Linked DNA regions of Homo sapiens: regions 2, 3, 4, 5 and 6 are each linked to region 1. Evidence: promoter capture Hi-C in 16 types of primary human blood cells and fetal thymus (Javierre and others, 2016). All regions are on one chromosome and are shown on one strand. The core of a region is centred on a gene start or on the middle of the fragment in contact, and the rest is flanking DNA. Distances in the headings are between cores, read along the strand shown. Region 1 holds the start of DPAGT1 (dolichyl-phosphate N-acetylglucosaminephosphotransferase 1). Region 2 overlaps PHLDB1 (pleckstrin homology like domain family B member 1). Region 3 overlaps LOC105369519 (a long non-coding RNA gene). Region 4 overlaps DDX6 (DEAD-box helicase 6). Region 5 holds the start of DDX6 (DEAD-box helicase 6). Region 6 overlaps USP2 (ubiquitin specific peptidase 2).

Region 1 (3,621 bases), core at 1,122-3,621:
ACAAGATAACTGAATGCTGCCTCCTCTGGGATCCCACAAGCTCCTCCTTTCCACCAGCTTCTGGTGTCTCACTGTCGCTGCCTGTGAAAGGTCCTTCTACTCTTATAATCTACTGAAATGATACTTCTCTTCCTCAAGACCACTTACTCTGGTCACAACTAATTGCTCCCTCCATATGCACCTATTGCCCTCAGTCCTCCTTTCAGCCTCAGCCTCATTATGTGTGATGATGCCTTCCTTGTACACAGATGTCTGTGTTCCTAGCCCCATGGGGACACCCTGTGGAAGAGAAAACACTTGCCTCCCGGGAGTTTCTAGTTTAAAAGGGGCACACGTGCATACACACAACACACACAGAAAAATAATAGCAGTGGGATAAGTACTGAAAATCTGGTGGAATACTAGCAAGTAAATTACGAAAATTTATGTATTTTATACATATCTGGGTTTTTGTTGTTGTTAATTAGAGCCATTTTCAAGTAGAAAAGCCATTTCACATCTGATTTAGTTTGTTTGTTTGTTTGTTTTGAGACAGTTTCCCCTCTGTTGCCCAGGCTGGGATGCAGTGGCATGATCGCGGCTCACTGCAACCTCCTCATCCCAGGTTCAAGCGATCCTCCTGCCTCAGCCTCCTGAGTAGCTGAGATTACAGGCATGTGCCACCACACCCGGCTAATTTTTGTATTTTCAGTAGAGACGGGGTTTCACCGTGTTGGCCAGGCTGGTCTCGAACTCCTGACCTCAAGTGAGCCACCCACCTTCGCCTACCAAAGTGCTGGGATTACAGACGTTAGCCACTGCGCCCGGCCTCACATCTGATTTTGAGGGAAAGAAGAAACTATCTTCGGCTTAAAAACGGTCAACATGACCCTGACTCCTGGAACATGCCATAGAGGGAAGAGTGGACAAAGCGCTAGGCTATTGGAGTCCTTTCCCTAACTCACTGGTGGTGACTTCCTCTCTGACAAATGGAAATCATTTGCCGCCTAAGAGCCTGTCGGGGAATGAAAGGTAATAAAGATGCTGGTGAACTGGCTGGGCGTGGTGGCTCACGCCTGTACTCCCAGCATTTTGGGAGGCCAAGGCGGGCAGATCACCTGAGGTCGGGAGTCCCAAACCAGCCTGACCAACATAGGGAAATCCCGTCTCTACTAAAAATACAAAATTAGCCGGGCGTGGTGGCGCATGCCTGTAATTCCAGCTACTGCCTGTAATCCCAGCTACTCGGGAGGCTGAGGCAGGAGAATCTCTTGAACCTGGGAGGTGGAGGTTTCGGTGAGCCGAGATCGCGCCATTGCACTCCAGCCTGGGCAACAAGAGCGAAACTCTGTCTCAAAAAAAAAAAAAAAAAAAAAAAAAAAAAGCTGGTGAATTGTTGTTTGCAGGGGAACAGGCCAAGCAAAATGCACAGCAACCTGCAGGAGGCCAAGCAAAATGCACAGTGACCTACAGGAAGAAACCTGACTGGGAGTTCCTCAGACTCACAGGAAATCAGTTGTGGGTCTGATTCCTCTCCCTCCTCAGCTCTTTCCAGAGCCTCAGCCTGGAAATCTCCATCTCCTCCTTGTGGGAGCTAGGTACAATGCAGTGATCCACGGCCAAGCTGAAGTCTCGAGTTAAATCCAAGACCTGAGGGTACTCCCAATCCCTCAGTGAAGTGCTGCGCTGGGTTGCCGGGCAACTAACTGCTACAGCTGGGGCAGAAGGTGGGTGGGATGCTGAGAAAAAAATACCAGAATCGAGGACAAGAAAAACAGAGTGGGAGGGGCTTTTCAAGGATCTACGCTTTAGAATTTACACCATCCTTCCAAATCGTAGCTTTGTTTCCGGGAACTGAGTTGTGTTTACCTTGGCTTCCGACTATGTTGGCAACAGGTTTCCTGCAAGAAACAGGCGCGTCTCCACACCCTCGTCCCTCCTCCCCACCCCCTGCCTTTCAATAGCCATCTTCCTGGAGCCGGAGGCATCCCAGATTAAGGGAGAGGTACGGGCCCTTTAAGCTTGACCTATGGAGGCGGACGGAGCTAAAACTGACGTGGAACCGGAATGTGAGCGGTGTCAGACACGTGGTACAAGGAGGCATTCATCTTGGAACCGGGCAATTGGCATTTCCGCTCTGGGTAGTACATCTTTAACATAATGTTAGGGAAGTATCCGTTCTTGGCTGCCTTTCTTTAATTGCGTTTCCAGTACTCTCTCGGTGATTCTACTCTTGAACATAGGATGAAATTTGGAATCACACTTCTCTTCCACTTCCATCCCCACCCTCTAATGCCCATATTAAAAATGGCGGCCGCCGCCTTCCGCAGTAATGGTTGTTCAGCGAACAAGATCCGGGCGGAAACAGTAGATAGGCGGGTGCAGCGGGGCAGAACATAGGTTGCCTTAGAGAGGTTCCCCGGTGTCCCGACGGCGGCTCAAGTCAGAGTTGCTGGGTTTTGCTCAGATTGGTGTGGGAAGAGCCTGCCTGTGGGGAGCGGCCACTCCATACTGCTGAGGCCTCAGGACTGCTGCTCAGCTTGCCCGTTACCTGAAGAGGCGGCGGAGCCGGGCCCCTGACCGGTCACCATGTGGGCCTTCTCGGAATTGCCCATGCCGCTGCTGATCAATTTGATCGTCTCGCTGCTGGGATTTGTGGCCACAGTCACCCTCATCCCGGCCTTCCGGGGCCACTTCATTGCTGCGCGCCTCTGTGGTCAGGACCTCAACAAAACCAGCCGACAGCAGATGTGAGCAGCGGCACACGGGTCCGGGCAGGGGGCAAGGGCTAAGGAAGGAGTGGCTAGGGCAGGGGCGGGAACCGGGGTGCTTGACCACACGTGAAGACTCAGAACTAACCCAGGCAGCCTGGAACTCGGAGAGGTGATGAGCAGAACTTACTCGCATTGGGGAAAGGATGGGTAGGGACCCTTGGGTATATCTGGGACTCTGGCAGTGGTGCTTTCCTCCCTCCGCCCCCCTCACCACTTACCAGAATAAAAAACCGGGAATGAGAAGACCACTTTGGGTTACTGTAACACCTGCACTAGTGAGTGACCACGCCCCCTTTCCTCTTCCCCCTCGCCCCCTTGCTGCTGGGCCACAGCCCAGAATCCCAGGGAGTGATCAGCGGTGCTGTTTTCCTTATCATCCTCTTCTGCTTCATCCCTTTCCCCTTCCTGAACTGCTTTGTGAAGGAGCAGTGTAAGGCATTCCCCCACCATGAAGTAAGTGGGTTCGTGGGGGTGATTGCCTGTGGCTGGGACCTGGGAGGTACCTGAGAGAACTGGGGTTATTTGGGCTTGTGGGGAGGGGCTAAGAAATTATCAGAAAAGACAGGAATTCTTAAAAGGTGGAATGGGAGCAGGCTTGAGTCATGGACCTGCCCGAGCCTCCCCCAGTTTGTGGCCCTGATAGGTGCCCTCCTTGCCATCTGCTGCATGATCTTCCTGGGCTTTGCGGATGATGTACTGAATCTGCGCTGGCGCCATAAGCTGCTGCTACCTACAGCTGCCTCACTACCTCTCCTCATGGTCTATTTCACCAACTTTGGCAACACGACCATTGTGGTGCCCAAGCCCTTCCGCCCGATACTTGGCCTGCATCTGGACTTGGGTAGGTAGTCCTACCACTGCTGCCCCT
Region 2 (3,621 bases), core at 830-3,329, 490 kb after region 1:
AAGGCAAGGGCCTACGTACTGCTGCTGGTGGACCTGCCTCCCTGAAGTCAATTGTCCATGCCCTGCCCCCTACCCGAGGGCAGGAAGAAAAGACTGGGGTCAAAAAAAAAAAATTAGCCGGGCGGTGGCAGGTGCCTGTAATCCCAGCTACTTGGGAGGCTGAGGCAGGAGAATCGCTTGAGCCTAGGAGGTGGAGGTTGTAGTGAGCCGAGATCATGCCACTGCACTCCAGCCTGGGCAACAGCGTGAGACTCCGTATCAAAAAAAAAGACGGGGGAAATGTCAGGTCTCCTGGATCAGCTGTGAAGGAAGTGACATTGAAAGGCCTTAAGGAGGATGAAGAGGAGAGAAGGAGACAGTGGAGTGAGTAGGATGGCCACTTCCAAGGGGCTTCTAGGCAGTAAGAGCCCCCAGAAAACAATGCCAGACCATCAGAGCCTGCTCAGAGCCAGGCTTAGCCCAAAGTTCCTGTCCTGCTGTTAGCCTTTAACTTCACCTCTAACCTCCACCCAAATCTGTTTTTCTCATTCTCCTAATCTGACAACTCACTGTATGAACTGATGCCCAGAACCCTGTTTCCAGGGTGAGCACACCTGGTCTGTCAAAGTGCTACCTGGGCCAACCGCTTACCTGCCTGCTAACCATAGTAATTATGGGCCTAGTTTTTATTTATTTTTATTTTTTATTTATTTATTTTTTGAGACGGAGTCTTGCTCTGTTGCCCAGGCTGGAGTGCAATGGTGCCATCTCAGCTCACTACAACCTCTGCCTCCCAGGTTCAAGCGATTCTCCTATCTCAGCTTCCCGAGTAGCTAGGACTACAGGCGTGTGCCACCACGTGTGGCTAATTTTTGTATTTTGGGTAGAGACAGGGTTTCACCATGTTGTCCAGGCTGATCTCGAACTCCTGTCCTCAAGTGATCCACCCACCTCGGCCTACCAAAGTGCTGGGATTGTAGGCGTGAGCCACCATGCCTAGCCAGGGGCCTAGTTTTTAGAGCTACCTTACACAACAGAATGGCCTATTGCTTTGGGTTATATTCGTGACCCAAAAGTTACTGTCAGCAGTCTTGTAACAGGAGCAGGCATGTCCTGAGATTTACCCTTGCCCCATCCCCATCAGGAAGTATTGTCCTCCTCTCCAGCTTCTCAAAACAACTTCCTCTTGGCATCATGGAACAATGCCATTGATACCCTCTCACTGCTGCTCCAATTGCTCTTCCCCAACAACCATTAACAACGCCATCATGCCCCAGGCCCTCTGATGGCGGGAATCAGAACCTCTTCTCTCCCCATAGTATGTGGAGACAGGTTGGGGGTGACCAGAGAAGAAAAGCAGGTTGAAAACATGTCTGGATGCTGAAAGGGTTTGGGATGTTGTTTAGGCACATCCAGATGCACCTGAGTACTCCATTCCCAGTATGGTCACTCAGGCAGTTACCATGGCAACCACCACAGCCAGCCTCCCCTGTGCCTAATACACACAAGCCTTTAAACAGAGGCCCCCTCCATCTGGAGGTGTCCAGCCTTACCCTGAGTGAGCCGGGTAGGCTGCCGGACAGGGAGCCCATCAATAGTGCAGGCATTGCCACAGGGGTAGAGGGTGAGGGTGCCCCGCAGGTTCTCGATGTAGCAGTGCTCTGGAGCCAGGCCTGGGCCCTGTAGTGAGATGTCTCTGGCTGCAGAGCCAATCACCGTCCTCCCTGGAGACAAGAGGCAAACTGAATCAGAGGGGTTGTCCAGGCTGAGGAGGCAGTGACAGGGCAAGGAGGGCCACAGTGGAAACATATTTCCACCTCCTACTCCAGGGAGAATCTCTGCCCACCACTGGCCACCCCTACTAGGCCCCTGAGCCTGGTCTATACAGTAAGTGATGGACGCTGTTCTCAAACAGAGAAAACTCTGCCTGAGAATGGGAGGCCCAGAGATGGGAAGACCCAGACAGCACACAGTAGGACCTAGACTCCACAGATGGAGAAGGAAGACTGCTTTTCTGCAGATCTTCCCTTATTCCCCCAACTGCCTCTCCCTATTGTCCTTTATCCTTTTTCCCCTTCATCCTACTCCTCATTTCTTCTAAATCTCCCTTTCTCTCCTTCTTCTCTCCCCCGCTTCTGCTACCTGCAACACTTCGTCTCCCTTGCTAACCTCTCTCTTCAGTGCAACCTCTCTCTTCAGTGCAGGCTCTCCCCTAACTGCAGCAAGAACAGCCCCTCCCGCTGACAGAGCCCCTGGGACTGGTATTTGGAGAATGTGGAGAATGTAGTATCACCCAGGCAACAAGTGCAGCCAGGAGAGTAGAGAGGGCGGGCAGAAGCTGAAAGGTGAAGGGGGCTGTGCCAGGGCCTCATCTTGGGAGATCTTGCCCTGACTCCCATCTCTCCATTCTCCATCTATGGTATACCCTCCCATGCAAGACAATGCCCTGGAGCGGGGCCCTTTTTCTTCTTGGCCACATTGGTTGCTAAGAGCAATGTGTTCTCCTGTTTCTCTCAGTGCTTTCTTCATGGTTTCTTTTCTTCTTCTTTTTTTTTTTTTTTTTTTTTTTTGAGATAGAGTCTCGCTCTGTTGCCCAGGCTGGAGTGCAGTGGCACGATCTCGGCTCACTGCAACCTCTGTCTCCTGGGTTCAAGCGATTCTTCTGCCTCAGCCTCCTGAGTAGCTGGGACTACAGGCCCGTGCCACCACGCCTGGCTAATTTTTGTATTTGTAGTGGAGATGGGGTTTCACCATATTGGCCAGGCTGGTCTAGAACTCCTGACCTCGTGATCCGCCTGCCTCAGCCTCCCAAAGTGCTGGGATAACAGGCGTGAGCCACCACACCTGGCCTCTCCTCCTTGTTTCTAAGCTGATCTTTAAGCCCAGTCGTGGAACCAGATCATCTACCAAGGAAGGCAGGCAGTCTGGGGAGGCAGAGACAAGGGAAGCAAGCTGGTGGTGTGGGGAGGCGAGCACCAGCAGACAGTAGAAGGGCCCCAACACATGCAGGAGGTGGGCCTCCAGGGCAGGAATGCCTATAAGGATAGAGGGGTGGTGAGTGAGATGCCCTGTTCACACTTACCTTCCTCCAGCGGCAGGAGGGTGATGGCTGTGCTGAGTCGCCCACTGCCCAGGCTCACCAGGTGGGGTTTGTCCGTTTGCACTTTCAGCCCTTTGCCTGTCTCGATCAGGTCCAAGGGTCCTTTCTGTAGGTAGTACGGGTGGAGGACAAGCATCATTAGATTCAGCACCTTACCACCCTAAACCAGTCACACCAGCACTCTCTCCAGCCCTCGCCCCTCTCCGAAGGGCTCTGAGGGTGCTGAAAGGCTTAGCACAAAATCTTACACAGAGCATGATTCCACTAAATTGTAATTAGATCTGAATCTAGGCCACTAACTCATCCCACTGGATTTATCGCAAGTCTTGGCTTAACTGTGCCTTTTGTCTATTAAAACAGAAGCAAGGAGAAAGGGGTGGGGGGTGGGGGTGGCATTGGATAAGCAGCAGGGGTACTGTAGAGGAAGGCCAATCAAGCTCCCTGCAGACTTGTCCATGGCTATCCACGTGGCCATTGCTTGCCCCTGCTAAGCTCAAGTACAGGGAAGATAGAGGCATGGATCAAGGAGAGTGATACAGCCC
Region 3 (3,621 bases), core at 1,122-3,621, 400 kb after region 1:
TCCCCAAATTATTTAAGCTTCAGGTCCCACAAAACCAAGCTCCGCCCTCTGGCAAGTGATTATTTTGCCTCCTCTCCAGTACACAATGAGATTCTGTTTGGGACACTTCAGTGACCTTTTTGTCTGCCCGCTTACCCCATCAGAATTTACATACATTCTGGGTTCATACAAACAAAATAACGGCTCAGAGGAGACGTGAGCTGTGCTCCGTGACAGTGGCAAGGCTGCAGCCTTGGCCACAATGAGAGCTCTCGCTCTCTGGGCTTCACCCATAATAAGGACACGTGAATGGGTGGGATGACAGACAGGAAACACTTCCCCAGCTTCCACCGGGGCAGGGCATGCAACCACAGCAACCACAGGGCATGGGGCGATTATTTGACTTCCAAGTCCAAATTAGAACATCACAACCAGCTGGGCGTGGTGGCTCAACGCCTGTAATTCCAGCACTTTGGGAGGCCAAGGCGGGTGGATCACCTGAGGTCAGGAGTTCGAGACCAGCCTGGCAAACATGGTGAAACCTCGTCTCTACTAAAGATACAAAAATTAGCCAGGCATGGTGGCGGGCACCTGTCCCAGCTACTCAGGAGGCTGAGGCAGGAGAATCGCTTGAACCTGGGAGGCAGAGGTTGTGGTGAGCCAAGATTGTGCCACTGCACTCCCAGCCTGGGTGACAGAGACTCTGTCTCAAAAACAAAAACAAAAAAATCACAACCACCATTAACCACTACCTCGAAACTCTGTGGCTTCACATCGTGGAGTGGGAGTTGTCCTCAGCTCCTCATGCCAGGGGTAAAGATTCTTCATTATTCAAAAAAGGTGCCATCTGATTTGCTTCAGAAGTCTAACATTTTGTGAACCCTTTGACACTGCCGTTCCAGGTTCAGGAGTCTGTTGTAAGGAAATAATACTACAGTGCATAAAGACATGAGTACTCAGGCGTTCATTCTCCCCAGCGCTGTCTGTAAGAAAAAAAGGAATAAACTAAAATGTTTATGTTTATTCAGTGCTTAGTGATAAATAATTAAATAAATGTTGACACATCCACATAGTAGAATGCTGTGAGGCCATTAACATTAGAAGGTGGTAGAAAACATAATAACAGCCGTGCACGGTGGCTCGTGCCTGTAAATCCCAGCACTTTGGGAGGCCTAGGCGGGCAGTATCACCTGCAGGTCAGGAGTTCAAGACCAGCCTGGCCAACGTGGCGAAACCCCATCTCTATTAAAAATACAAAAATTAGCCAGGTGTGGTGGTACATGCCTGTAGTCCCAGCTACTCAGGAGGCTGAGGCAGGAGAATCACTTGAACCTGGGAGGCAGAGGTTGCAGTGAGCCAGGATGGGGCCACGGCACTCCAGCCTGGGCCAGCAAAGTGAGACTCCATCTGAAAAAAAAAAAAAAAAAAAAAAACCAAGAAAAGAAAAGATACTGACATGGAAAGGTAAACATGGTATGAATAGACCCAGGGATGGGCCCTGTGGTCCCACTCCCTGGTGTTCACACCCTGTGTAACCTCCTCCCCTGGAGCGCCGGTAGGACCTGCAACTTACTTCCAGCTAATAGACTGTGAAAAAGGTGAGGGGGTTTTGCAGACATAATTAGGGTCCTAAGTCAGTTGATTTTGAAGTCAAGGGGGCATTTTCATGGGTGGGCCTGACTAAATCAGGTGGAAGTCTTTGAAAGAGTGTCTGGGCCCTCTCAGAGGGTCAGAGACTCTCCGTCTATTACTGGCTTTGAAGAAGTAAGCTTCTCTGTGGTGACAGGGCCACTCAACAAGGAACTACTGTAGTCTCTAGTTGCTAAGGGCCATCCCTGGCTGACAGCCAACAAGAAAACATGAACCCCAGTTCTAGTCTTACAACCATAAGGAGAAGAATTCTGCCAACAGTCTGAGGGAGCTTGGGGGCCAATATTAAGCCTTAGATGAGACCAGCTGAGCCTCAGATGAGACCATAGCCCCAGCCAGCACCCGGACAGCAGCCTGGTAAAGCTCTGAAGCGGAGAACCTAGGTGAGCTGGGCCCAAATTTCTGCCCTCAGAAAAAGATGTGTGTTGTTTTAAGTTCCTTATCATGTGAAAAACAAAGAGCAGGTTATGAAATAATGTGTAGCAAAATCCCATTTTTGACTTGGAAAATGGGATCTTGACACATACTTAGGAAAAAACCTGAAACAAATACCAAAACACAGATGTTATATAAGGACTACAAAGGTATTATAAAATAGGATTAGAAAGTCTAGATACTTCAGGAATTAAAAGCATAAGAAAAGAGTAAAATACTATGACTAGGTACCATGGTTTGAATGTTGTCCTCTCTGCAATTTACATTGAAACTTCATCCCCACTGTGTCAGTGTTTTTTTTTATTTATTTATTTTATTTATTTATTTTTTGAGATGGAGTATTGCTCTGTCGCCAGGCTGGAGTGCAGTGGCGAGATCTCGGCTCACCACAACCTCTGCCTCCTGGGCTCAAGTGCTTCTCCTGCCTCAGCCTCTCCAGTAGCTGGGACTACAGGCGCATGCCACCACACCGGGCTAATTTTTTGTATTTTTAGTAGAGACGTGTTTTCACCATGTTAGCCAGGATGGTCTGGATCTCCTGACCTCATGATCCGCCCGCCGCGGCCTCCCAAAGTGCTGGGATTACAAGCATGAGCCACTGCACCAGGCCTAATTTAATTAATTTTCAAGTAAACTAATTAAGTGAAGATACAAAGTTGCAGAGAAAGAACATCTAGATTAGGCTGAGGCTGGGCACCTAACAGTTAATACCCTTTCATTTGTAATTGACATAGAAATATATTTAAATTGGCTTAAACAACAAGAAGCAGTTACTGCTCGTGTTACTGAAAATGAATGTGGTTGAATTCAGGTGGGAAACGATGCAGCTTTCAACCAGGCTTCAGGATCTGCTCCCTTTAAATCTCAGCTCTGCTCTTCTCCATGCTAGCTTCATTCCCAGGCTCTTTCTCTAACTAAAATGTAAGCTTAGGCCAGGCATGGTGGCTCATGCGGGAGGATCGCTTGAAGTCAGGAGTTCAAAACCAGCCTGGGAAACATAGTGAGACCCTGTCGCTATAAAATAAAATGTAAATGTATTGCTATTTTTATTTTATTTTTTTAATATGGAACACTTCATGAATTTGCACATCATCTTTGTGCTGGGGCCGTGCTAATCTTCTCTGTATTGTTCCAGTTTTAGCATATGTGCTGTGAACCAAGCACTGTGAATGTAAATAAAATAAAATAAAATATCACTATCATGAGGATAGTGACTTTCTCTTTTTTGTTCACTATTTAATCCCCAACACTTAAAATCGTATTTTTATTACTGCACATCATAAGCACCAAAAAAATTTCCAGGAAAAAAAGGAGGGGGCCAGGAGTGGTGGCTTATCCCTATAATCTCAACACTTTGGGCAGGAGGAGCTCTTGAGCCCAGGAGTTCAAGACCGCCCTGGGCAACAAAGTGAGACACTGCCTCTACAAAAATAAAAATTAAAAAAGAAAGAAAAGAGGAAAAGAAGGCGGAGGTATAGCAGCACAACAATTCTGGAGCAGAATAAATAAGACTATGTTAAATACATTTTAGAGAAACCGAATAACACTGAAGACAAA
Region 4 (3,621 bases), core at 742-3,241, 330 kb after region 1:
GGTCAGCTAAGGTCTAATGAGGATTAATAGTTTACTATTTATAGTTAGGAATTATAGCATTCTGAATCCTGTAAATAAGTCATTCTTCCTGCTAACAATCGGTTTATCATGATTGAAAAAAATATTTCCTAAAAACTCAAAGGTTTTTTTTGTTTGTTTGTTTTGTTTTTTTTTTTGGTGTGTGTTTTGTTTTGTTTTCTTTTTGGGTGGGGTCGGGGAGACAGAGTCTCAGTTTGTCACACTGGCTGGTCTTGAACTCCTGGCCTCAAGCAGTTCTCCTGCCTCAGCCTTGCAGAGGGTTGAGATTACAGGTGTGAGCCACCATCCCCAGCCTAAATTAGAGATATAATTAGAAATTACCATCTCCCTTTTTTTTTTTCCTGTTAAGCAGGGGACATTTGTAACAATCATTGCTACCTCGTCTGGAGTAACCATAGGTTGTTTTTTTGTTTTGTTTTATTTTGTTTTGAGACAGAGTCTCGCTCTGTCGCCCAGGCTGGAGTGCAGTGGTGCAATCTTGGCTCACTGCAAGTTCTGCCTCCTGGGTTCACGCCATTCCCCTACCTCAGCCTCCCAAGTGGCTGGGACTGCAGGCGCCTGCCACCACGCCCGGCTAATTTTTTTGTATTTTTTTAGTAGAGACGGGGTTTCACCATGTTAGCCAGGATGGTCTCCATCTCCTGACCTCATGGTCTGCCCACCTCGGCCTCCCAAAGTGTTGGGATTACAGGCGTGAGCCACCGCGCCCGGCCTTTAACCATAGGTTTTTTTTCCCTCTTGGAAATTAAGGTTTGGAAAATAAGAGGAAGCAGTCAGTGTAAATGCAGCTAGTTGGGTGATGTTGAGCTTTTGTTGGTACCACACTTTTGTAAAATGCCTCTCAATGCTAGGAGATTGGAAAATAAACCATTCTTTAATTATAGGCATCAGAAACCAACTCGATCTAACTTAAGCAAAAGGAAATTTATTGGAAAAATAACGGGAATTCACAAGATTGAGAAGGCTAGAGAAACATACTTGGAAATGACTAAGAATTGAGATAGCTCTGAAGGACTTAGGAAGCTGTAATGGATGCACTATAACAATTTAGATTCTTAGGAGGCAACATTCCGCTGGCCCAGTGTGGGCTATGTGTCTACCACTTGGCTTAGAAAATTGGTGAGGCTTGGTCTGTTGGGACAGGGGAGACCAGGGCATATGTAATTCCTTAGAAGGAAATTGGGGTGTTACTTAGTAAAGGGATACTAGAGTAACCAAAACACAACAAATACTCTTCAGTCATTATCTAAACGTTACAGTGAATGTGAATTTGGAGACCTAAGGTGGCAGATGTCAGCCCTAAGCTTGTGGGGTTGGTTTTTTGGGGTTTTGTTTTTTGGGGGTAATAGCTTTATTGAGATATAAATGACATCACACATCAAAAGTATACAATTTAATGCTTTTTAGTGCATTTAGAGTTCTGCAACCATTACCACAATAAATTTTAGAACATTTTGATCAGTCCCACAAAAGAAACCCTTTTAGCAGTCACACCTCATTTTCCCACACCCCTAAACAACCACTGGTATACTTTCTGTCATTCTAGCTTTGCCTAGTCTGGACATGTCATATAAATAGAATCCTATAGTATGTGTTTTTTTTGTGACTGGCTTCTTTGACTTAGCGTAATGTTTTCCGAGTTCATCTGTGTTGTAGCTTGTATCAATATTCCATTCCTTTTTCCTGAATAATATTTTATTGTATGGCTCTATTACTTCTGATTTATCCAGTCATCAGTTGGTAGACATTTGGGGTTGTTTTCCAAGGACTGAGGATTTAATGTGCTATTTTGTGAAAATCTGAGAAGTAGGAAGGGGATTTAATGATCTCAACTGTCATCCGTCTGAAAAACCTAACTTGTGATTTTAAATAAAATAGCAGGCTGCCTTCCCCTGTTCCCTTTTTAAAATAGGAACTGACCCTGCTTTAACCTTATGAAGTTTTATTTATGAATAAAGTTTGTACTATTATAAAAAAAAACATAGAAGGAACTGGCTATTAAGGATAATGCTGCTATGAAAATTCAGGTGCAGGTTTTTGTGTGGAGATGTTTTTATTTCTCTTCGCTGTATACCTAGAATTGCTAGTTCATATGGTAACTCTTTTTAACCTTTTGAGGAACTGCAAGGCTGGTTTCCAGCGTAGCTGTACATTCCCACTAGCAGTGTATGAGAGTTCCATTTTCTCCAACTTCTTGCCTACATGTTATGTGCAGATCTAAGTTCAAATACTGGCTAAAGCATTTCTTGCTTTGTGACCTTGGGCAAACTAATCCTGTTTAGGATCCATTTTGTCAGTTGTAAAACAAAGTACCTAACTTGAAAGTTGTGCTGAGCACATAGTAAGTTTTAAAAAAAGTTTTCGTTTCCTTCCTCCTTTGCCTTCTCCCTGGCAGTTCCTCATAATTTCCTCTTGTATTTCACAGCTTTTTGAACTTGACTTGAATTCTCTTGCTTTTCATTATTTCCTGAGAAACACTGGTAAGAGGCAGTGTGGATGTGCTGAATTCACTGACTGTTAATCATAATGGCCATCATATAAGGCAAAATATCAGGGTGTCTTAACTTACAGTCTATCACATGTACTTTGTTAAAGCTTTATCCTTGAACAGTTTTTGTAGGGTATAATCCCTGTCAAAGAGGGCAAAGGAATAGAAGTCAATGGCCTTAATCAAGTCAGTCAAAAGATGAACTGAAAAGGGGGATTAGGATACCTCTAGTCTAATTCTGTTCTGCCTCACTTGATTGAAAAAAAGGTTTACACTTTAAAGAACCTGACCCAGCAAGTCGTTATGAGACCATCAGAGACCACCTATCTTACTTTTTCAATACTGTAAAACTGAGTAGTGTGCAGGCAGCCTGTTAAAAACTACAGACTACTGGCACCACAGAACCACAAAAGAGAAAACCTGAGGTGACAGGGTAATGGGAGCCTCTGGAACAACTGGAAATAATGGTTCACTTATCTGTGATGAGGGAAGAAATTTAAGACCAAAGGGTTAAAGCCAAGGTTTTCTTCTTTGTTTGCTTTACCTTAATAAGCAGAGTCTTTAATGCTGGCTGTAAGAACAAGACAACAGTATTTTCTTTTCTTTTCTCTCTCTTTTTTTTTTTTTTTGTGAGACTGAGTCTTGCTCCATTGCCCAGGCTGGAGTGCAGTGGCGCAATCTTGGCCCACTGCAACCTCCTCCTCCTGGGCTCAAGCAGTTCTCCTACCTCAGGCTCCCAAGTAGCTGGGACTACAGGTGCGCACCATGACCATTTTTGTATTTTTAACAGAGATGGGGTTTCACCATGTTGGCCAGGCTGGTCTCGAACTCCTGACCTCAGGTGATCTGCCTACCTCAGCCTCCCAAAGTGCTGGGATTACAGACATGAGCCATCGTTCCCAGCCAACAACAATATTTTCACAGTTGTTCTGGCAGCTGTGTTGTTCTGACCATATGGAACCCATTTATATCCTGTGATTGGAGCTCTAGGTAGAAAGAGTGTTGTCGTGGGAGATGGAAGTCATCCTGCTTATTTAGTCATTTCTACCAATAGCAGCTTTAAAGGGCTAAAGCTGTTTTTTGTTTGTTTGTTT
Region 5 (3,621 bases), core at 386-2,885, 310 kb after region 1:
ATGGTTAGGTTTGGCCATTCTTTGTATATTCAGTCTCTCAATTGGGTGAGGATTAGATTTTGTTTCTCTTGACCTAGCTAGCTTTTAGCTCCAAAGTTTTGTTTAACTTGGAAGAAGACAGCAGTTCTATTATTTCTGTCAAGGATAAACACAGACATTGGGATCTGAAAAGTATTATGGGAACATACATAAATATCTTCATAGTGAGGGTCAGGCCGGAGAGTCACCCTTTGCCTTAAGCTTCTCCATTTCCTTACTGAATTCCTATTTCTATTATAACTGACGCTTCACTAGCTTCCCTCCCTTTAGTGGAGGGCCCGGCCTCCTCCGCCCCTACTTTCTTCAGTCTTGCCCTTCGAGGGCAGGAGAAGACGGTTGCGCCCTACTAACTCTTCACCTTACAGTCCAGCTTCTCCCCCCACCACCCCGGTGCGCTCTCTCGGTTTGCTACCCTCTCCACCAGGCCTCCCCACTCCACCTGCGCAACGCCCCCAGCTCCGTGCTCTCCGGAGTAATCCCCCCTCAGTCGCACTCTCACAGCCCGGCCCCTGCCCCCGCCTCACCCCCAGTTGTGCCTTCACCTCCCGGTTCCTCCTAGACAGGTCCCCCAAGATACGCCCTCACAGTCCGGTCCCCCGCCGTCCTCTCCCGGCGCACGCTCAAGTCCGGTGCCTTCCCCCCGCAGACCCCCGAGGCGCACCCTCAAGCTCGGTGCCTCTGCGCCCCCCGCAGGGGCGCCCTCAAGCCTGGTACCCTTCACATGAGAGCCCCCCGGGCGCACCCTCAAGCTCGGTGTACCCCCCCATACCACCCGCAGGCGCGCCCTCATGCCCGAAGACTTCCCCCGCCCAGGTGCACCCTCAAGCCCGGTGCCTTCCCCCACAACCAGCGCCCCCAGGCGCACCCTCAAGCCCGGAGCCTACCCGCCGCCAGGCGCGCCCTACAGGCTCGCCCCGTCCCACCGCGCAGCGCCCCCCGCGCACTCTCTGGAGTCCTCCCTCCTGCCTGGTGCGGCCTCCGGGCCCGGTCGGCCCCCCTTCCTGCCCCCACACTCAGACGCGCGCCCGGCGTCTCCGGGTCGCTAGTTCCGCGCCTTCCTGCATGGAGGCGCGCCCCGAGAGGCTCGGACGCGGCCCCTTAGGCCCGGCATCAGCCTCCCCGGCCAGCTGGAGAAGTCAGGTCAGCTTCCTGTCCCCGAGCAGCTGCCCGGGGGCCAGTTTTCAAAACATATCCTTAGTCATGTAATAAAGAGATGTTCCTCTGGTCTCAACTCCCGATTTTTACTTTGGAGGGGCGAAGGCAGGCCTACCCTTGCCAGCCACCATTTCTCAATCACGTCGCGGCTGTGGAAAAGCAGCCGTCCTGTCCCTTCAGAAAGGAACTCGTATTTCCCCCTCGAACTTTTCTCGTCGGTGTGAGAGAAGGGCCCTCCATTTTCTCCTCAGGAAGCTTTCGCGGCCCGACTTCCTCTCACCACCAGGCCAGGAAGGCAGTGACGCCGCGGCGAATATAGCCGCGGCGGCCGAGGTTTCGCCATCTTGAGTGGAGGAGGAGCCGCGGTCGCCGCCATGCGGAGAGGCAGGGAAAGAGGGAGGAGGCGGCGGGCGGGCGAACGGGCGAGCGAGGGAGGGGGCAGAGGAGCCGAGTTAGCTCAGCCAGGCGGCGACTTCGGCGGCGCCACGAGAGCGGGCAGCGGAGGAGGTAGGGCTGGACAGCCGGGGGAGCCGGCGGCTCGGGCGGCTGGCCTGCGCGCCCCTCGGAGCGGGGCGGGGGCGGGGGCGAGAGGAGGCCGTAGCGAGAGGGCTGGGTGGGGGCGGGCGGAGGTTTCCGAGGAGGAAGGAGCGTCCGCCATTTTGGGAGCTTCGAGTCAACAATAAAGGACCGAGGGTGCCGAGCGGGAGTGGCCTCGTTGGTAGGACACGGGCCCGAGTCGCGAGGCTTGGGGTGAGGTGGTGGGGTCGAGGTCAGCGGTGCTTTGGGGGCTGTGGGGAGCCCCCCGGGCCGGCTCTGGGGGACTCTCGGGCGGAGGCCTAAGGCCTGGCCGGGCCTGGGGAGGAAGGCGGTCGGCAGCTGTGTGGGGTGGGAGCGCCTGAGAGGAGGCGAATATAGGAATGTGGTGCGCAGCAGGGTCGGCAGGAGGAACAGGCTAAGTACTCGGAGTAGCTTTATCGAAGATGAGGGAATATGAGGCCGAAGGGGGCGGCAAGGACTTAGGGGGATGATGGTGGAGGTTATAGGGTACGAGGCGGCCCTATAGGGGGCGGCAGGGACATGCTGTATTGGAGGGCTCGGTTTAGAAGCAAACCGGCCGCTGCTTGATTGCAGTAGGCCTTGCGGGTCAATAACAAGAGGGTATTTATGGAGCCCCCGACTCTTGGAGGAAAGGAGGGGGATTTCTGGTTTAGGGGGTCCATTTGGGGCCTCCTTGGGGGAGTCCCTATTGTTTGCTACTAATGGAGCGGTTGCTGGCTCATATTGCGCAGATAAGATTGCAGAGCCCCAACCTTTTGTGTTTATGGTCAGAAGTGTGTGTGTTTGGGGCGTGGGGCGGGGTGCGGGGGGACAAGAAATTTCCTTTCAGTTACGGGGTTCCAGTCATTAGTCAATGACTCTTTCCCGTATCTCTCTCCTTTCTCTTCCTCAGCCCCCATTTCCCTTCAGAATAAAACCCAGTCACTCCAACTTGCAGGCAAAGCTAGAAAAACTGCGCTGCATTTGCAAACAAAAGCTCTTGTTGGCGATGACGATACTGTTTTGGGTGTGAAACTGTCAATTGCTAACTACGATCTGTGAAGTGCTGTAATTAACTCCGCTAGGGGCTCCTCCCAACTAGTCTACGTTTCTTGTTGTTTGTTTTTTGTTTTTTTGTTTTTTGTTTTTGAAAATGTAGAAAACTTGCAAATCTAAATTGGGAAGGGGTAGGAGGAATATTTCCTTCTCTGAGAAAAAGCTGCAGTGCAGGTTTCAGTTTAAGAAGGGAGCAGTTATCACATAGTCTCATTTTGGATTTAAGGATATAGGAGGTCTTACTGTGCATGATGGACAGTAATGATGATATCGTTCGGTCTTTAGAGGTTGCCCTTTTCATCCTCTTAGTGCTCTGCAAACAGCTAAGTCTCTGTGAACTGCGTGATATCGCTGATCATAATATAAAACCGTCAATACAGGAAAGTAGCTGTTAACCATATCTGCTTAAGAGGTCAGAGTCTGAAGTAAACAGCTTTGTGTATGTGATAATCAGGATTTGCTTGTGAGCAACTTGTTCATTTTTTTTTTAAGGAAGGCATAATCAAGGAGCATTTTCTTCATAAATGTTGAGATCTGTTGACTTTAAAATTTTGAGTTTCACATGCCTTGGTGTATGGCAGAAAGAATCAGCACTCGTAAGCTAGTGTATTTTATATAAGAAATGTAACGGGGTTGCTGGGAGCGGTGGCTCACACCTGTAATCCCAGCACTTTGGGAGGCCAAGACAGGCGGATCAGCTGAGGTCAGGAGTTCGATACTAGCCTGGCCAACATGGCAAAACCCCGTCTCTACTAAAAATAGAAAAAATTTAGCTGCGCGTGGTGGCAGGCGCCTGTAATCCCAGCTACTCGGGAGGCTGAGACAGGGGAATCG
Region 6 (3,621 bases), core at 385-2,884, 270 kb before region 1:
GGTGTGTGGCCGGGGGCAAATAAGCATCACTTTTCCCATCTGTATAACAGATAGATTAAAATTCATGATCCTCTGGGGCTCTCAAAGCTCCACATTCAGCAGTGTCTGTGTTCCTTCACTAGACCCTCCCCAGCTGCAGGACTGGAGCAGGGAAGGACTGGGAATGCCACCTGCAGTGCAAGATTTGGGACTGTAGGGGGCCCCCTTTGCACAAGCATCGCCAGGACCAATTTGAGATCTGTGTTTGTAGAGGAAGCCTGTGTTGGTAGAGGAACTCTTAGGAGGCCACAGGGCCCTAACTCCACTTAGAACAGAAGCTTAGCTCAGTGAAGTGAGTGTCCCTCACTGTGGGACCATGCAGCAGGTGCTGGTGTCTGGGGAAAGGGTCTGGAGACCACGTTCTGGCCCCTCATTGTTGCATGCTCACTCACGGCCTCCCCTGCCCACCCACACCCCATTACTTCCTCCCCTGAGCCTCCTTGGCCTCACAGGGGATCTGACCAAATGATCTTCAGGTCATTCCAGCACAGACAGTCTAGGATTCCAAAAAGACACCTGCTCATCACATAAGTCAGAAGGGACAGATGTGGTCTTAACTCCTGAAATATCCAGCATTCTCAACCCAGGGGTCAGTGGCATTCCCCCAGCTCAAGAGTTTCTGCAGATGCTGAGGCAATGGGATTTGACCTGGAAGACTGCACGGCTTGGTGGGCTGTGGAGGTCAGATAGCCCCTGCTTGCGTGTTTGAGTCTTTGAATGGCCAGGATGCGCTGACTTCCTGTGTGGCATATAAAAGCCACCTCATCCCTCGCACTCTCACCGAGGTGTGAACACACAGGTGCAAGCAAGCTCCTGTGCACACCTGCGTGCATGTGTGCTTCTCAGCAGCCAGCCTGCCTCTTGTGGAAATGGACTGGGAGCTCTGAGGTTCTGGCCCAGCTGAGGATGGGGAGCAGGTCTGTGGGAGCCCGACACCTGGCAGGGCCCTCTGACAACTACACTCCTTGTCTTTCAGCCCATGAGGCTCCCAGTCCCCACTGAGTGCCACCCTGAAGGATGTCCCAGCTCTCCTCCACCCTGAAGCGCTACACAGAATCGGCCCGCTACACAGATGCCCACTATGCCAAGTCGGGCTATGGTGCCTACACCCCGTCCTCCTATGGGGCCAATCTGGCTGCCTCCTTACTGGAGAAGGAGAAACTTGGTTTCAAGCCGGTCCCCACCAGCAGCTTCCTCACCCGTCCCCGTACCTATGGCCCCTCCTCCCTCCTGGACTATGACCGGGGCCGCCCCCTGCTGAGACCCGACATCACTGGGGGTGGTAAGCGGGCAGAGAGCCAGACCCGGGGTACTGAGCGGCCTTTAGGCAGTGGCCTCAGCGGGGGCAGCGGATTCCCTTATGGAGTGACCAACAACTGCCTCAGCTACCTGCCCATCAATGCCTATGACCAGGGGGTGACCCTAACCCAGAAGCTGGACAGCCAATCAGACCTGGCCCGGGATTTCTCCAGCCTCCGGACCTCAGATAGCTACCGGATAGACCCCAGGAACCTGGGCCGCAGCCCCATGCTGGCCCGGACGCGCAAGGAGCTCTGCACCCTGCAGGGGCTCTACCAGACAGCCAGCTGCCCTGAATACCTGGTCGACTACCTGGAGAACTATGGTCGCAAGGGCAGTGCATCTCAGGTGCCCTCCCAGGCCCCTCCCTCACGAGTCCCTGAAATCATCAGCCCAACCTACCGACCCATTGGCCGCTACACGCTGTGGGAGACGGGAAAGGGTCAGGCCCCTGGGCCCAGCCGCTCCAGCTCCCCGGGAAGAGACGGCATGGTGAGTTTACCCTTGGGGACCGGGGATAGGCTGGGGAGGCAGCCACTGATGGAGAACAGCCAGGCTGAGGGCTCGACTCCCAACCTGACTGATGACTGACAGGCTGCTCCTGGTGGAGACAAACAAGAGAAGTCATCCTGGCACATCTGGTGCCCCTGGGGCTCCGTGCCGAGGGGAGGGGCCTTCCCACTCTGCCTAGAAAGCCCACTCAGGGCCCGCGCACTCGAGGATAGTCCAGTAGTGTTCTCAGGAATGCTCTGCTGCGCCCAATGAACCACTCTTCTCACCTTCTCCTTTTCTATGTGACATGCCAGTGTCTCCTGCAGGCCTTGCCCCAACCTGGGCTGGATGCGGGGGGGCCCAGACCACCAGTGCACCCTGTGGCAGGAGGGCCTCCTTGCTGTGGTTGCATCTCCCCTCTTGTGCAGGCTTTATTCCCTAGCCCCAAGGCCTGGCTTTACATTTGGACATAAGACATCAGGGGAAGAGGGACTCTCCTCTGAGTGACACTGGCATACTCAGGACCAGGGTATCAGACAGCAATGCTTATCATCTGGCTTTGGAGAAAGTAGGGGAGAAATTTTTATCTAGGGCTTGAGACAATCCAATACCTCTATTCCAGCCCTGCCTCAGCTGGAATGAGGGAAGAGGCTCTGCTGGAGACTGACCAAGGGCTGGCATGGGCTCGCTCGCCAACTAATGCCCGCACACGCCTCTCTTGGGGCACTGACGACATCTGCCTTTTCTGTAGTTATTAGTGTGCCCATTAGGTGGCAAGCTCTCAGAGGAGGAAAAAGAAATCCTATCTCTAGATCCCCTGCCACGTGCCTCCCACAATGGGGGCTGACCTGCTGATTGCAGGGATGAATGGATGGATGGATGTGTGGGTGGTGGGTGGGTGGATACACGGGTAGATGGCGGGTGGACAGATGGACAGGCAAGCATATGGGCAGAAGGGCTGGATGCTGTGTCTCCTCCATTACCTTATGTACCCCTCCCTACTCCTAGGACAAATACATTTTGAAAACAACAGCATGCCACAGCAAGAAATACTGCTTGGAGGGCTGATCCAGACAAATGCAGCAGGGGTTCAGGAATAGGGGCAGGACCTTGAAGCTTGCATAACTAAAGGTCTTGAGAGAGCAACTTTGATAATATGACTTAGGGAGTCTTGGCTTTGTTGTGCCATCTGTGAAGTGGCACAGGAGATAGAAACGCTGGTGCCTCCCAGAACATTCAGAACTTGACAAGGCAGGGCTGGATCCACTGTAGAAAGGAGTGGAGAAGAGAGATGTGTCACAACAGAGCTGGCATGGTGGGGAAGTATCAGCTCTCAGGGTGCTGCGTGCTGGGCTTGGAGTGGAGCAGGACTCACTTGGACTCGGCTGGTGCTGTTCAACCCCAGGGCAATTAGAATATGGCTCTCCTCGGAGGGGCTCGGGTCCTAGAAGCCTCTGCGGGGCTCCCTCCCCTTGCTCAGAAGAGAAGGGTTGTTTCATGGTCAGCAGTGCTCCTTAAAGTGGGGTCTGCAGACTGCCTGTGTCAGAGTCACTGCAGGGCTTAACGATTCATCCAAACCCACTGAAGCAAACTCTCTCGGGATGGGGCCTGGGAAGCTGCTCTTTCCACAAGCTCTTTGGGTGATCTCTAGGCATGCTGAGATGGAAAACCTCAGCGCAGACTAAACTACAGACCCACCCTCAGCCCCAATCATGACAGCAGTATTCCCCTTTACTGGGGATCAGATTCCACTGGGAATCTGCCTCCTCCCCACACAGGCATGGCCCAACC

The links. Contacts are between HindIII fragments. The CHiCAGO score rates a contact against its expected background, and 5 or more counts as called.
Region 2: a fragment that was not itself captured here is called in contact with the fragment with the promoter of DPAGT1 in region 1 in 1 of 17 cell types (total CD8 T cells); the score reaches 5.1 in total CD8 T cells.
Region 3: a contact is called between a fragment that was not itself captured here and the fragment with the promoter of DPAGT1 in region 1, in 6 of 17 cell types (M1 macrophages, total CD8 T cells, M2 macrophages and 3 more). The highest score is 6.6, in M1 macrophages.
Region 4: a contact is called between a fragment that was not itself captured here and the fragment with the promoter of DPAGT1 in region 1, in 1 of 17 cell types (erythroblasts). The highest score is 5.1, in erythroblasts.
Region 5: the fragment with the promoter of DDX6 here is called in contact with the fragment with the promoter of DPAGT1 in region 1 in 8 of 17 cell types (fetal thymus, naive CD4 T cells, non-activated CD4 T cells and 5 more); the score reaches 8.3 in fetal thymus.
Region 6: a fragment that was not itself captured here is called in contact with the fragment with the promoter of DPAGT1 in region 1 in 1 of 17 cell types (M0 macrophages); the score reaches 5.0 in M0 macrophages.

Annotation. Positions count from the first base shown.
Region 1 is chr11:119,100,603-119,104,223 of GRCh38, reverse strand. DPAGT1 (dolichyl-phosphate N-acetylglucosaminephosphotransferase 1) reads left to right here and starts at 2,371. Exons shown (of 9, transcript NM_001382.4): 1 at 2,371-2,729; 2 at 3,086-3,206; 3 at 3,381-3,594. The coding sequence starts at 2,569. It also overlaps a transcript of C2CD2L not described here. RefSeq lists enhancers at 1,103-1,815, 2,027-2,336, 1,519-2,718, 2,530-3,243. The HindIII fragment of the contact is 9,998 bases long and covers 2,003-3,621 here.
Region 2 is chr11:118,614,123-118,617,743 of GRCh38, reverse strand. PHLDB1 (pleckstrin homology like domain family B member 1) reads right to left here. Exons shown (of 23, transcript NM_001144758.3): 3 at 3,062-3,185; 4 at 1,533-1,703. Among named protein-coding and RNA genes, the nearest start is that of PHLDB1, 8.3 kb to the right of the region's middle. RefSeq lists enhancers at 1,259-1,775, 1,776-2,293. The HindIII fragment of the contact is 5,173 bases long and covers 1-3,621 here.
Region 3 is chr11:118,701,949-118,705,569 of GRCh38, reverse strand. LOC105369519 (a long non-coding RNA gene) reads right to left here. Exons shown (of 4, transcript XR_007062909.1): 3 at 732-962. It also overlaps the pseudogene RNU6-376P. Among named protein-coding and RNA genes, the nearest start is that of TREH, 24 kb to the right of the region's middle. RefSeq lists an enhancer at 355-856. The HindIII fragment of the contact is 1,242 bases long and covers 1,751-2,992 here.
Region 4 is chr11:118,770,419-118,774,039 of GRCh38, reverse strand. All of the region lies in intron 4 of DDX6 (DEAD-box helicase 6), which reads left to right. Among named protein-coding and RNA genes, the nearest start is that of DDX6, 19 kb to the left of the region's middle. The HindIII fragment of the contact is 1,291 bases long and covers 1,346-2,636 here.
Region 5 is chr11:118,789,178-118,792,798 of GRCh38, reverse strand. DDX6 (DEAD-box helicase 6) reads left to right here and starts at 1,635. Exons shown (of 14, transcript NM_004397.6): 1 at 1,635-1,701. RefSeq lists enhancers at 248-803, 1,420-1,529, 2,840-3,019, 2,478-3,035 and silencers at 860-1,149, 1,600-1,929, 2,560-2,639. The HindIII fragment of the contact is 4,863 bases long and covers 1,452-3,621 here.
Region 6 is chr11:119,370,916-119,374,536 of GRCh38, reverse strand. It overlaps USP2 (ubiquitin specific peptidase 2), which reads left to right. Exons shown (of 13, transcript NM_004205.5): 2 at 1,016-1,830. The coding sequence starts at 1,057. Among named protein-coding and RNA genes, the nearest start is that of USP2, 9.0 kb to the left of the region's middle. RefSeq lists an enhancer at 1,077-1,577. The HindIII fragment of the contact is 2,629 bases long and covers 320-2,948 here.